Regions from separate parts of the Homo sapiens genome. Here region 1 is linked to region 2. Evidence: promoter capture Hi-C in human tissues and cell types (Jung and others, 2019). All regions are on one chromosome and are shown on one strand. Each heading gives the region's core, a stretch centred on a gene start or on the middle of the fragment in contact. The rest is flanking DNA. Distances are from core to core; before and after follow the strand shown. Region 1 has its middle 35 kb from the start of PLA2G4E. Region 2 holds the start of ITPKA (inositol-trisphosphate 3-kinase A).

The links. Contacts are between HindIII fragments. The study calls those that stand out against the background at their distance.
Region 1: a fragment that was not itself captured here is called in contact with the fragment with the promoter of ITPKA in region 2 in 2 of the 25 tissues and cell types used here (dorsolateral prefrontal cortex and hippocampus).

The regions. Positions count from the first base shown.
Region 1 is chr15:42,053,831-42,059,220 of GRCh38, forward strand. No RefSeq gene overlaps it. Among named protein-coding and RNA genes, the nearest start is that of PLA2G4E, 35 kb to the left of the region's middle. The HindIII fragment of the contact is 6,025 bases long and covers 1-5,205 here.
Region 2 is chr15:41,492,253-41,497,735 of GRCh38, forward strand. It overlaps ITPKA (inositol-trisphosphate 3-kinase A), which reads left to right and starts at 1,622. Exons shown (of 7, transcript NM_002220.3): 1 at 1,622-2,164. The coding sequence starts at 1,676. RefSeq lists enhancers at 524-1,024, 1,025-1,525 and silencers at 1,262-1,881, 1,902-2,081, 2,192-2,241. The HindIII fragment of the contact is 23,030 bases long and covers 1-5,483 here.

The DNA.
Region 1 (5,390 bases), core at 943-3,442, 560 kb after region 2:
AAAATTAGACTTGGGCACAGGGGCAGGAGCAGAGACGAGCCCTCATGTCATTTCCAGATTGGTGTCAGGGAGTATCTGAATGTTTATCCTTTTAAAATGTTTCTAGGGGATGTCTCCAGGCCTTGTTGAGCTTAGTCTCCTGTAAAATTCACCTCCTACAAATTAAAAATAAAAGCCAAACAAAGAATTTTAACCTCAGCTGAAATAACAGCTCCAACAAACATTCTTGCACTGAGCACCATGTGCCCGGAATCCCTCAAGGGCACCTGGCCACTGGTCCTGCCAAATTCCCCACTTCCCTGCCCAGCCAGGCCCTGGGTGGCCCCACAGTTGGCCACTCCTAGAATAGGCTCCACAGGACTATGTGTATTTTTTGTATTTGTTAGTTTTTTTTTCTTATTCAATTCCTAAAATGGAAGATCTACAGGTGGATAGAACGCTCACTAAGTAAGTCCTCAGCTTCCAAAACCTAGAGGCACACTATTACCCTACACATTTAGTTAAGGGAAAATGGAAAGGAGAAAAGGAGGGAGGGAAGGAGGAGACAGAGGAAAGAAAGAAAAGCAAGGCAAGGCCTGGAAAGATTTGCAGAAGTAATGACAGCTTTTTTCTTTTTTTTTTGGAGACATAGTCTCACTGTGTCACCCAGGCTGGAGTACAGTGGCATGATCTCAACTCACTGCAACCTCCAGGTGCCAGAGATTCTCCTACCTCAGGATCCCGAGTAGCTGGGATTACAGGCACATTTTTATATTTTTAGTAGAGATGGGGTTTTGCCATGTTGGCCAAGCTGGTCTCGAACTCCTGACCTCAAGTGATCCGCCTGCCTGCACCTCCCAAAGTGTTGGGATCACAGGCGTGAGCCACCGCACCTGACCAGTAACGACAGCTTTTAATGGTGAAAAACAGAACAAGCTGAGAAGGCTACAGTGAGGACTGGAATGTTGGGCTCTGATGTGTGGCTTTGATGTGTATATGTTTGAGCTTCTCCCTTTTTTACATCCCTGGGGAAATTTTAACTTCATTCTGTTAAGCTTAAATGCTTTTATGAGAAGTATCCTAATTTAATAAAGTCTTATCTAGAAAACGTTTTATGAAAAATACCTAAGATGTAGAATAGGGAGTAGAATAGAATCTGGTGGGTAAAAGTGGGCTGTATACATAAGTTTAAAGAAAAGAAAAAGAGAAAAATGTATTTTCTGGAGCAAATTCAATTAAGCCAATTTAATTTCTTGATCTTCTTGATTATTTTTAATAGAATAATACTTAGCAATTTCCAGTTTTGCTGCTTATCTTCGTTGGGACCAAGTCTTTTCCACACACCATGAAATCATACCCTTTATGATGGGTTTTACCTTTTCTTTGTGGCCGCTATCTCTTTACAAGTCTAATTTTTGCCAGGACAATTTTTTTATTCTTAAGATGTGGTTCTCTAAAAGTTTATCATGTGAAATTTTGGTTGGTTTCATTTTGCATTGGTTATTCACAAAAGTAATGTTCATTGCATTGGATAAAGGACTGATTATTTGTTTTTATTTTTTATTGCAAAAAGAAAACATAAAGAAAAGGCATTTTCCATGGTATGGTTAAAATGTCAGGAAGCTTTGTTACATTAAAATAGTTGTTTAAAATGTGGGAAAGCCTACAGATAGAAAAAAAACAAACAAAAAACATCCTTAGTTTCCAGGGGCAGGATCTTTAATAAGGAAAGATTTTCTCCAATAAGAGAGGCCCTTCACGGGAAGAAGAGTGGGGAGATCACATAGGGAAAGGGGCTGTTGGACACACCAGAGATCTGAAGCCACATGGGAAGAACCATCCCACTGGGGCCTAAATTAAAATGTCCAGATTGGCTCTGGGCACATTTAACTAAATGTGTAGGGTAATAGTGTGCCTCTAGGTTTTGGAAGCTGAGGACTTACTTAGTGAGCGTTCTACCCACCTGTAGATCTTCCATTTTAGGAATTGAATAAGAAAAAAAAATTAACAAATACAAAAAAATACACATAGCAATTAATGTAGGTTGTTTACACATGATAATGTATGAGACCATCATAATGGTTATGGTCTCATATCATTAGGAGGACTCTATTCAAGAAAGGAGGATTTAACAGAGTATAGCTGGGGACAGTTAGTAGAAAAAATAAAATTGTTTCATGTTTGCCCCCGGAGTGAGCTGAGGCTCTTCAATGAACTGGTTCAGGTTGTAAAGGACATGGAGTAGAGACCGTGCCTGGCAAGACCCCAGGGACAGCAGCTGCTGCTACCACCCTTAGGTACAAGCAGGATCTGCCCAAGGCACTTGCACTTATGTTTCAGGGAGCAAAAGTCTATTTAATTTTGCTCTACAAAAGGGAGATGGGGCTTTATCAAAAGGAGCTGATTACCTTCAGCCCTGGATCCAGGTGTATCTCCTTCCAGGTCCATGGAAGACATACTGGGTGACATCAGGAAGACATGAGAGGCTAGGCTCAGTGCCTCTCCAGTGGTTCCTGATTCAAAAACGGATGGTGCCCACCCACCCAGGAGGTGCTGGGGTGCTGTGGGAGGGTGGGGCTCCCACAGCTCTTAAGAGTATTATTGGCAAGTTATCCAGTCTTTCTGAGCCTTAGTTTCTTCCTTGGTAAAACAGGGATAATAATGATACCGACTTTATAGAAGTGCGAGAACTAACGCCTGCCAAATAGTAGGGCACAATTAATGTTAGTGTCTTTTCTGCCCAATTGCCCAGTACAGAAAGTGTTGCTTCAGTAACCTAGGCGAATGCCAGGACTGATTCATAGGAATATCATAGATATATTCGCAACGTCTAAAATGATCTCGTTATAACAATGATCGTTTTTACAAAAATAAGATATATTGACTGTTTTGTATCCCATGAAGGTGAGGGGAGGGATTTTCCTAACTTTCCTTCCAGAATCCGCTATTAGGGTGATGGACTCAGCACCTTTCTGTCCTCCCCTACCCGTCTTAAGAGTTCCTCGTCACAGAGTCGGAAATGGGGATAGAGCTTGGCCCAAGTTAGAATTTCCACCACTCCAGGGGCAGAATGCAGAAAGAAGAGAAAAGTAGCGGGGGGCCTGGCGCAGCTGCTAATGCGGTGCAGAAACTCTTTGAGCTGCCACCCTGGCAGGGCCGGCCTTGGGGGATGTGCCTGAGGATGGTGGGTGAGCAAAGCCACCTGCCCCGGCACAGAGCCTGCGGGTTGTGCTCTGCAAAGCCCTCCCGGTTTCATTCCCAGAGACCGGGCGAGAAAGGGCAAGCCAGGCAGCAGACGCTGGGGGGCGCGTGGCCAGGCTACCCGGATCGTCCAGCGCGACATGGAGTCTGTGTGTCCTCACCAGTGCTGCGTGACAGGAGCCGGGCACCACCGACGCCATAGGCTTGTCGGTGTCTCAGCACTGACACCGTGTGGCCCTGAGAAAAAGCAGTGAGGGGTCCGCAGAAAGTCTTGGAGACGGGAGGTTGTCCCATTTCCTTTCCTCGGGATGTTAATCAGCATCCCTGGGACTTTCCTGGTTATCGCTGATGGCAGAAGTCCAGGAGGGAAAGGAATGTGTCTGAGCTCAAAGGCTGAAGGCTTCAAGACTTAGAAGTCAATTCGATCACTAATGAGAAAGAATGTAATCTCAAGGTGAACTCCAGAGTAGGGAGTGAGTGTGTATCGTGACCTTGGGGGCTAGTCATCACCCCAGCCTAGACAAAGATGATGTAAAACACCCGCGTCAGGGTTGTGACATCCTCCTGACGTCGAGGAGCGACCGCCCCTTCCCGGATGATGTGGCTCGCACAGCTTACACTTTCTCCACCTCCGCTGGCCGTACCTGCTTCAGTAAGTGGCCCTGCCATCCACCCAGTTGCGTAATGGATTAGTCAAGACTCTCTTAGTCATAGGTAGGAGCCAAACTGAACAAGCTGAGGCATAAAAAGCAATTTACTGCCTCACCTAGCTGGGCAAGAGGCCGAACTAACTCACAGGTTTGACACAAGGAAGATTCTGGGAAGTTGGAGAAGAACAGAACCTGGGATTGGCAGCGGCCAGGGCTGTTTGTCCTGCCCTTGTCTCCTCTGTCCCCCTTCACCCACTGGCCTCACTCTCTCTTTCTGTAGACAGCCCTCCTCCAGTGGTGGGGATACAGCCCCTGGCAGCCCAGGCTCAGCCACCCCAACATCAAGGGAGAAATTTTTTCAACAGGAATCTTTCTAATAGGGAAGGGCTCAGATGGGCTTGCTCAAGTTAGGTGTCTGCCCCCCGAGGCAATCCCCAGTGGCAAGGAGATGACACACTGAGATAGGCCAGTCCTGGTCACACCCTCTCTCCTAGGGCTGCTGGACAGGAGTTGTCAACAGAGAAGAGTGACAGGAACACTTACTTGGCAGGCACAAATCACAGGTTGCTGTGCTCCACTATGCAGATGATGACACCCTCAGATTTTTTCTCTTTAGTAAACTCTTAAAACTAGACATATACACAGAAAACTGCATGAATTATGAGTGTGCAGTGTTTATTCACAAGAGCAAGGACATAGAATCAACCCAGGCACCCATCAAAAGTAGATTAAAGAAAATGTGGTGCATATACACCATGGAATACTACACAGCCATAAAAAAGAACAAAATCGTGTCCTTTGCAGTACCATGGATAAGGCTGGAGGCTGTTACCTTAATTGAATTAACACAGAAACAGAAAACTAAATACTACGTGTTCTTACTTGTAAGTGGCAGACACAAAGATGGGAAAAATAAACACCGGGAATTCCAAAAGCGGGGAGGGAGAGAGTGGGAGAAGGGTGGACAAACTGCCTATTGGGTACTATGTTCGCTACTTGGGTAGGGCCCAAACCTCAGTACCATGCGATATACCCATGTAACCCCAAACCTGTACATGTACCCCCAGAATCTAAAATTTGTTTTAAAAAAGAAAATAAATATGTATAGAAATAGCAGAATGTAAGATACCTTTAAGTTCACCTTTCAGAGATAACACTGATGATGTTATCAGCATTTATTATTTTCTTTAAGGATCTCATTTCTATTTATTTATTTATATATATATATTTTTTAGAGACAAGGTCTCACTCTGTTGCCCAGGTTGGAGTGCAGTGATGCAGTCATAGTTCACTGCAGCCTCAAACTCCTCAGTTCAAGTGATCCACCTGCTTTGGCCTCCCACAGCGCTGGAATTACAGGCATGAGCCAGCACACTCGGCCAAGAATCTCATTTTTTAGCCTCACTTTTAAAAAATAAAATAGAAAGTATACTGCATAAAGAAAAAAAATGTGCAGCTTCATTAAGTTTCCCTTTTGAATACACCCATGTAACAAGCATCCTGATGGAGAAACAGAACGTCACCAGCATCCTAGAAACCTTCCTTGGCTTCCTTCCAATC
Region 2 (5,483 bases), core at 372-2,871:
TTTTTTTTTTTTTTTTTTTTTTTTTGAGACAAGTTATCACTCTGTTGCCCAGGCTAGAGTGTGGAGTGTGGTGGTGGAGTGTGGTGGTGATCTCAGCTCACTGCAGCCTCGACCTCCCAGGCTCAAGTGATCCTTCCACTTCAGCCTCTCCCCGAGTAGCTGAGACTACAAGTGCACACCACCACACCTGCCTAATATTCTGTATTTTTAGTAGAGACAGGGTTTTGCCATGTTGCCCAGGCTGGTCTCGAACTCCTGGGATCAAGCAATCTGCCCGCCTTGCCCTCCCAAAGTGCTGGGGTTACAAGCCTGAGCCACTATGCTTTGCCGAAGATTCCCGTCTTCCCACTGAACCTTCTTCTTTCCTTCTCCTGGGCCATTCCTGAGCCCTGGCTGAGGGGAGAGAAGGGAAGGAAAGCCCCTCCTGCGGCCATCTCAGCATCCAAGGCAATCCTTCTGGGGCTGCTCTGTCTCCAGGGCCCCAGCCATCCCCAGACACTGAGTGCCTGAGGGGGGACCCTCACTCCTGTGGCACTATGGTAAGATAGGAAACAGTGGCTTCTCCTCAAAGCAGCCTCGCCGGTCGGTCAGCTGACTACCAACATGGGAAGTGGCCGAAGATCCACATGGAATGACACTGATAAGCACTTTGCAGTGTCTGAAACTCTTAAACATCAGTGCTGTCTTCCTAGTTTTACAGACACAACTCTGTGGGTTGGATGAGGTTTTTCTAAATGTACAAATGCAGAAATATACGGAGGGAGTAAAGGGACTGCCTACAAATCACATCTAGAGTGTGGTGTACCTGATTTCAAGTCTTTTATTTTATTCTCGCAGCAACGGGAGAATCCGCAGTCGAGGGAGGTGAAATGACTTGCTGAACGCCACACGGCGGACTCCAAGCCCCGAGCTCCTATAACAGAGGAGGAGGAAGGCGGGCTCAGCTCCTGCCACCCAGCAGCGGGGGAGATGCAGCCCGGGACTAGGCTGGGCCATGGGGACAGATCCAGGCCCCGCCCCCTGACCTTGTTCTCTGCCCGCCGGGAAGTGGGGAACTTGCGGGGAGCAGCCTCAGCTAGTCCCTGGGGCAGAGTCTCCACTTGGGTGCACGCCCTGGGGTGGGGCTTCTTCGGGAAGCCGGGGGCCTTCAACTCTGCTCAGGAGCTCGGGCCGGAGAAAGGCCCCGAGACTTGAAGCCCTTGCCCGGGAGGGATGAACACGCAAAGGAACCCGAGGAACGGGGTAGGGGACCAAGAGTAGGACCAGCTTCTCCTGCGCGGGGACAGGGCCTGTGGAGCGGCCTGGAGGAATCTCTCCCAGCCGCGAAGCCCGGGAAGGCTGCGAGGCCCCAGCGCGGAGCGGCCCCTCCCACCTCCCCGAGGGCAGGCGGAGCGAAGCCTCGGGGCCCGGGCCCAGGTTTTGTGCCTACGGAGGCTGGACTTCCCCGCCACCCCGAGGAGTCACCGAGAGCCTTCTCTCCCTCGCAGGGGCCCTGGGAGGCCCGCGCTTTCTCTGAAAGTGGAAGGAGTGGGCGGGGGGCGCGGCCGAGGCGGGGCGCGGGCGTGCAGCGGCGCAGGCTCCGCCCCGGGGCCGTCTCCAGCCGGGGGCGCCGAGCCGCTCCAGTCCCCGGCGCGCCGCGGGCTGGTGGGCTCAGCGGCGGCGCCGGCACTGGGAAATGACCCTGCCCGGGGGCCCAACGGGCATGGCGCGGCCGGGGGGCGCGAGGCCCTGCAGCCCGGGGCTGGAGCGGGCCCCGCGCCGGAGTGTCGGGGAGCTGCGCCTGCTCTTCGAGGCGCGCTGTGCGGCGGTCGCTGCGGCCGCCGCCGCGGGGGAGCCCCGGGCCCGCGGGGCCAAGCGGCGTGGGGGACAGGTCCCCAACGGGCTTCCGCGGGCTCCCCCGGCCCCGGTGATCCCTCAGCTGACCGTGACAGCCGAGGAGCCCGACGTGCCCCCGACCAGCCCTGGGCCGCCGGAGCGGGAGAGGGACTGCCTCCCGGCAGCGGGCTCTTCGCACCTGCAGCAGCCGCGCCGCCTTTCCACCTCGTCGGTCTCCTCCACTGGCTCCTCGTCGCTGCTCGAGGACTCGGAGGACGACCTGCTGAGCGACAGTGAGAGCCGGAGCCGCGGCAACGTGCAGCTGGAAGCGGGCGAGGACGTGGGTCAGGTACGGGCCGCGGGGGCGGGGCCAGCGCCGGGCGCGGGGGCTGCACGGGGGACCTGGCTGGGTGCTCCCGGAGGACCCGCTCCTGTCCATGCTCCCTCCAGCGGAAGGTCCTGTTCTCGCGGTTTAGGAGGAATCTGGGGGTCAGAGGGAGGCGCCTGGCCGACCTCTCGCCTGGGCAACTTTCACCTCGGCTCCGCCGGCGGGTCGTGGCGCTGGCCCTGGGGCGTCTAAGAAGCGGGGCGAGGAGCAGGCGACCCGCCGCGGGGACTGGGCGAAGCGGGGGTAGCGGACCTTGTTGGCTGTGGGTTAGGACAGGAGGGATCGGAGGGGCTGAGCCTTGCCGGGTGAACCCTCGGAAGGAGAGAGGCGAAGGAGAGTTTCCCTTACCCCCCGCCCCCTCTCCGGTGCCGCGGCCGCACCCCCGCCGTTGCCACGGTTTCCCTCTCCTGAGTGGGAGTGGAGCGGCGCTCCAGGCTCTGCTCGGGAGCCGCTGCCGTCTGCTCCCAGCGCCCGCACGAGGCGTGGACGCAGGGGAGGGAGGGGCGTGGGCCTGGGAGCTCTGGCTGGGAGCGGAACGCAGCCCACCCAGTGCGCGCCCTGCCTCCCATCTTCCCGGCTCGCCGCTCCTGAGCGCGGCAGAGAGGGGCGGTAAACTGAGGCTGCAAGGGGGCAGGATCACTCTGCTAGTCTCTGCCTCTGATAGCCTGGGTGTTCTGGGACCAGGTCTGACCCTCGGAAAACACAGCCCTGGGCACTGTTAAGTCATTCCTGACGCCCGCCACTTAGGGATGTGCGGCTCCCGGGACACCCTCCTTGTTCCCCTCGTTTTAACCAAGGCCAAATACCTTGAATAACTGTCCGTGGTCAGCGCGAAGGACTTTCTTTAGATCCACGTTTCGCAAGTGTCCCTGAGGCCGAGGAAGAGGCGAGGGGCGCCCCCGGCCTCGGGCGTCTGGGGCCTGCCCATAAGTCCGGGTCGGCGCGGCGGGGCGGGGAGAGCTGTGGCCGCGCGCCTGCTCCGCCGCACAATCGGCTGGGACAAGGCAGGGAAGCTGTGGCGACCTGCAGGGGTTCACAAGCCCGGAGGCCGATGGGGTTTGTCAGTGACACCAGAGGGGAAAAGCCTCACAGAGCAGGAACACCCCCCGCCGCCAGGTGCTGGGTGCGCCGGCTCGGTCACTAGCCTGCCGCTTCCCCTTCTTCCCCGGTGGTCAGAGCAGCCCCGGACCCAGGATCGTTTCTGGGGTAACCCTTGCCTAGGTCGGGGGGCGGATGCCGGGGCTTCCCAGGATGTGGAGTGTGGGGCAGTGAGAGGCCCCCCGCCCCGCCTCTTCGGAAAAGCCTGAGCAGCAGCTCCCGGGGCGCGGAAGCTCTGACACCTGAGAGCCGGTGCAGGCGAAAGGGCGCGAAGCGCGGGCGCGTCCCGCTTCCCTCTTCCGCCCGCAGGGACTCGGCGAAGTGCCTGGGAGAGGGAGTGCGCTAGGAGGAGGTCCTGCGGCCCAAGCCTGGGTGTAGAGACCGCCCCGGCTAAGGTCAAGCCTCGGGGACCTGGGCGACCCCGCCGCCCTCCGAGCCGTCGGGAGCCGGTGCAAATCGCCGCTGAGGGCCCTTCCAGCTCCAAGGCTGCGGCTTCCAGGCCTTCCCCACCCCCAGGCCCGCCGGGGCCTCCCCGAAGTCAAACAGCCACAGCGGCGGCAGATAAGCCAGGGGCTGTTGACAGAGGCTGCCTGAGTCCGTGTGGAAGGGCCCAGGGCGGACTTTGCCTCGCCGCAGGTCCCAGAGCCGCACAGCGCGCCGGCCCAGGCCAATTTAGGGCTTCCCCAGGCAGGAAGCAAGGCTGGTCCGGCTGACCGTGAAGGATGCACGTGGGCCGGACTCTAGGACTCCCGGCTTACCAGCCCCTTACGCGCGGCCCAGGCAGGCCGGAGCCCAGGAAGTTTCTGCCTGCCTGCCTGCCTACCTCTCTGCCTGGGGCATACGTAGTCCCCTTCACCTCCTAGGAGCCCTCTCCAGCCTGCCCAGAGCAGGGAAATTGAAACTGGGCAGCCTCACTCCGGCAGAGGAAAAAGTCACAGGCAGGCTTTTCCTAACCAGCCAGGGGAGAAGTTGGAGGCCCACCCGCAAGGTCAGCTGCATGACTCTATGGCCTTGCCTGCCTCCTCAAACAATTGTGGGGTATTGCTGGAGGAAAAGAGAGGGTGTTTGGCTCCTGTTCATCTGGTTTTCTTCTTTCTGTGCTCCAGGATAGGTAAGGAGACCTGGATGCCATCCCCTCCTGGACTCAGAATTCCCACACATCGCTTTCCACTAATTATAGAGCAGAATTTAGGTTAACAGACTTCCTTTTTAAACAGCTAATGCCCATGGGAAGGTGAAGTCGTGGGTCACTTATACCTTAGTGCAAATCGTTTTATAAATTTAAACTGATTGCTCTTCCCACCACCACGACCACAGGGAGTGCTAGTTTGATAGGGCAATTGGAACATGGGGAGGGTATTGGGCTGGTAGAGAGCTTCAACCAGAGCCTGGATGACTGGAGGCAGGGAGCAAGGGTGAGTGCCAAAGACAGAGCACTCACCCACCTGCTGGTCTGCTCCAGCAGAAGATACACTGTGTATCTGGCATGAGCAGGTGTCTTCAAGGCTTCCGAATGGAGCTTAGACAAAGGAGGGTCTGAGGCTAGTATCCAGCCAAGCCCTGCCCAGAGAGAGGTACTCCCTGTTCAGCCCTAGGAGTGAGGAATTATCAGAGGGCCCTCCTGTGACTTCATTAAAGTCTCTCACACAGTCAGCAATCCTAGCCTTTGCCTCAAGATACCCAGGTAGCCTCTGGCTGTGTGTTAGTCTCCCAGAGAGGGCACCTTCATGGAGGGAGGCCCGAGCCAGAGGATGTTCAAGCTTCTCCCGGGTTCAAGCGATTCTCCTGCCTCAGCCTCCCGAGTAGCTGGGATTACAGGCACCTACCACCACACCGGCTAAGTTTTGTATTTTTAATAGAGATGGGGTTTCACCATGTTGGCCAGGCTGCTCTCGAACTCCTGACCTCAAGTGATGCATCTGCCTTGGCCTCCCAAAGTGCTGAGATTACAGGTGTCAGCCACCGCGCCTGGGCTTACATTCATTTTTAAAAGCGTGATGTTCTCTGGGGGAGGTATCTCCCTAAGGTGGAAGGTGGCAGTGATTTGAGTTCCATGACACTTGCACAACTCCTGCCATGCTTGGCCATACCCATTACTGGCAGGGGGGCTAAATCCTGTCATAGCAACCTCAGGTGGTAGGACGGAGGACTCAGATGAGATAATAGGTATGAAAATCTTTTG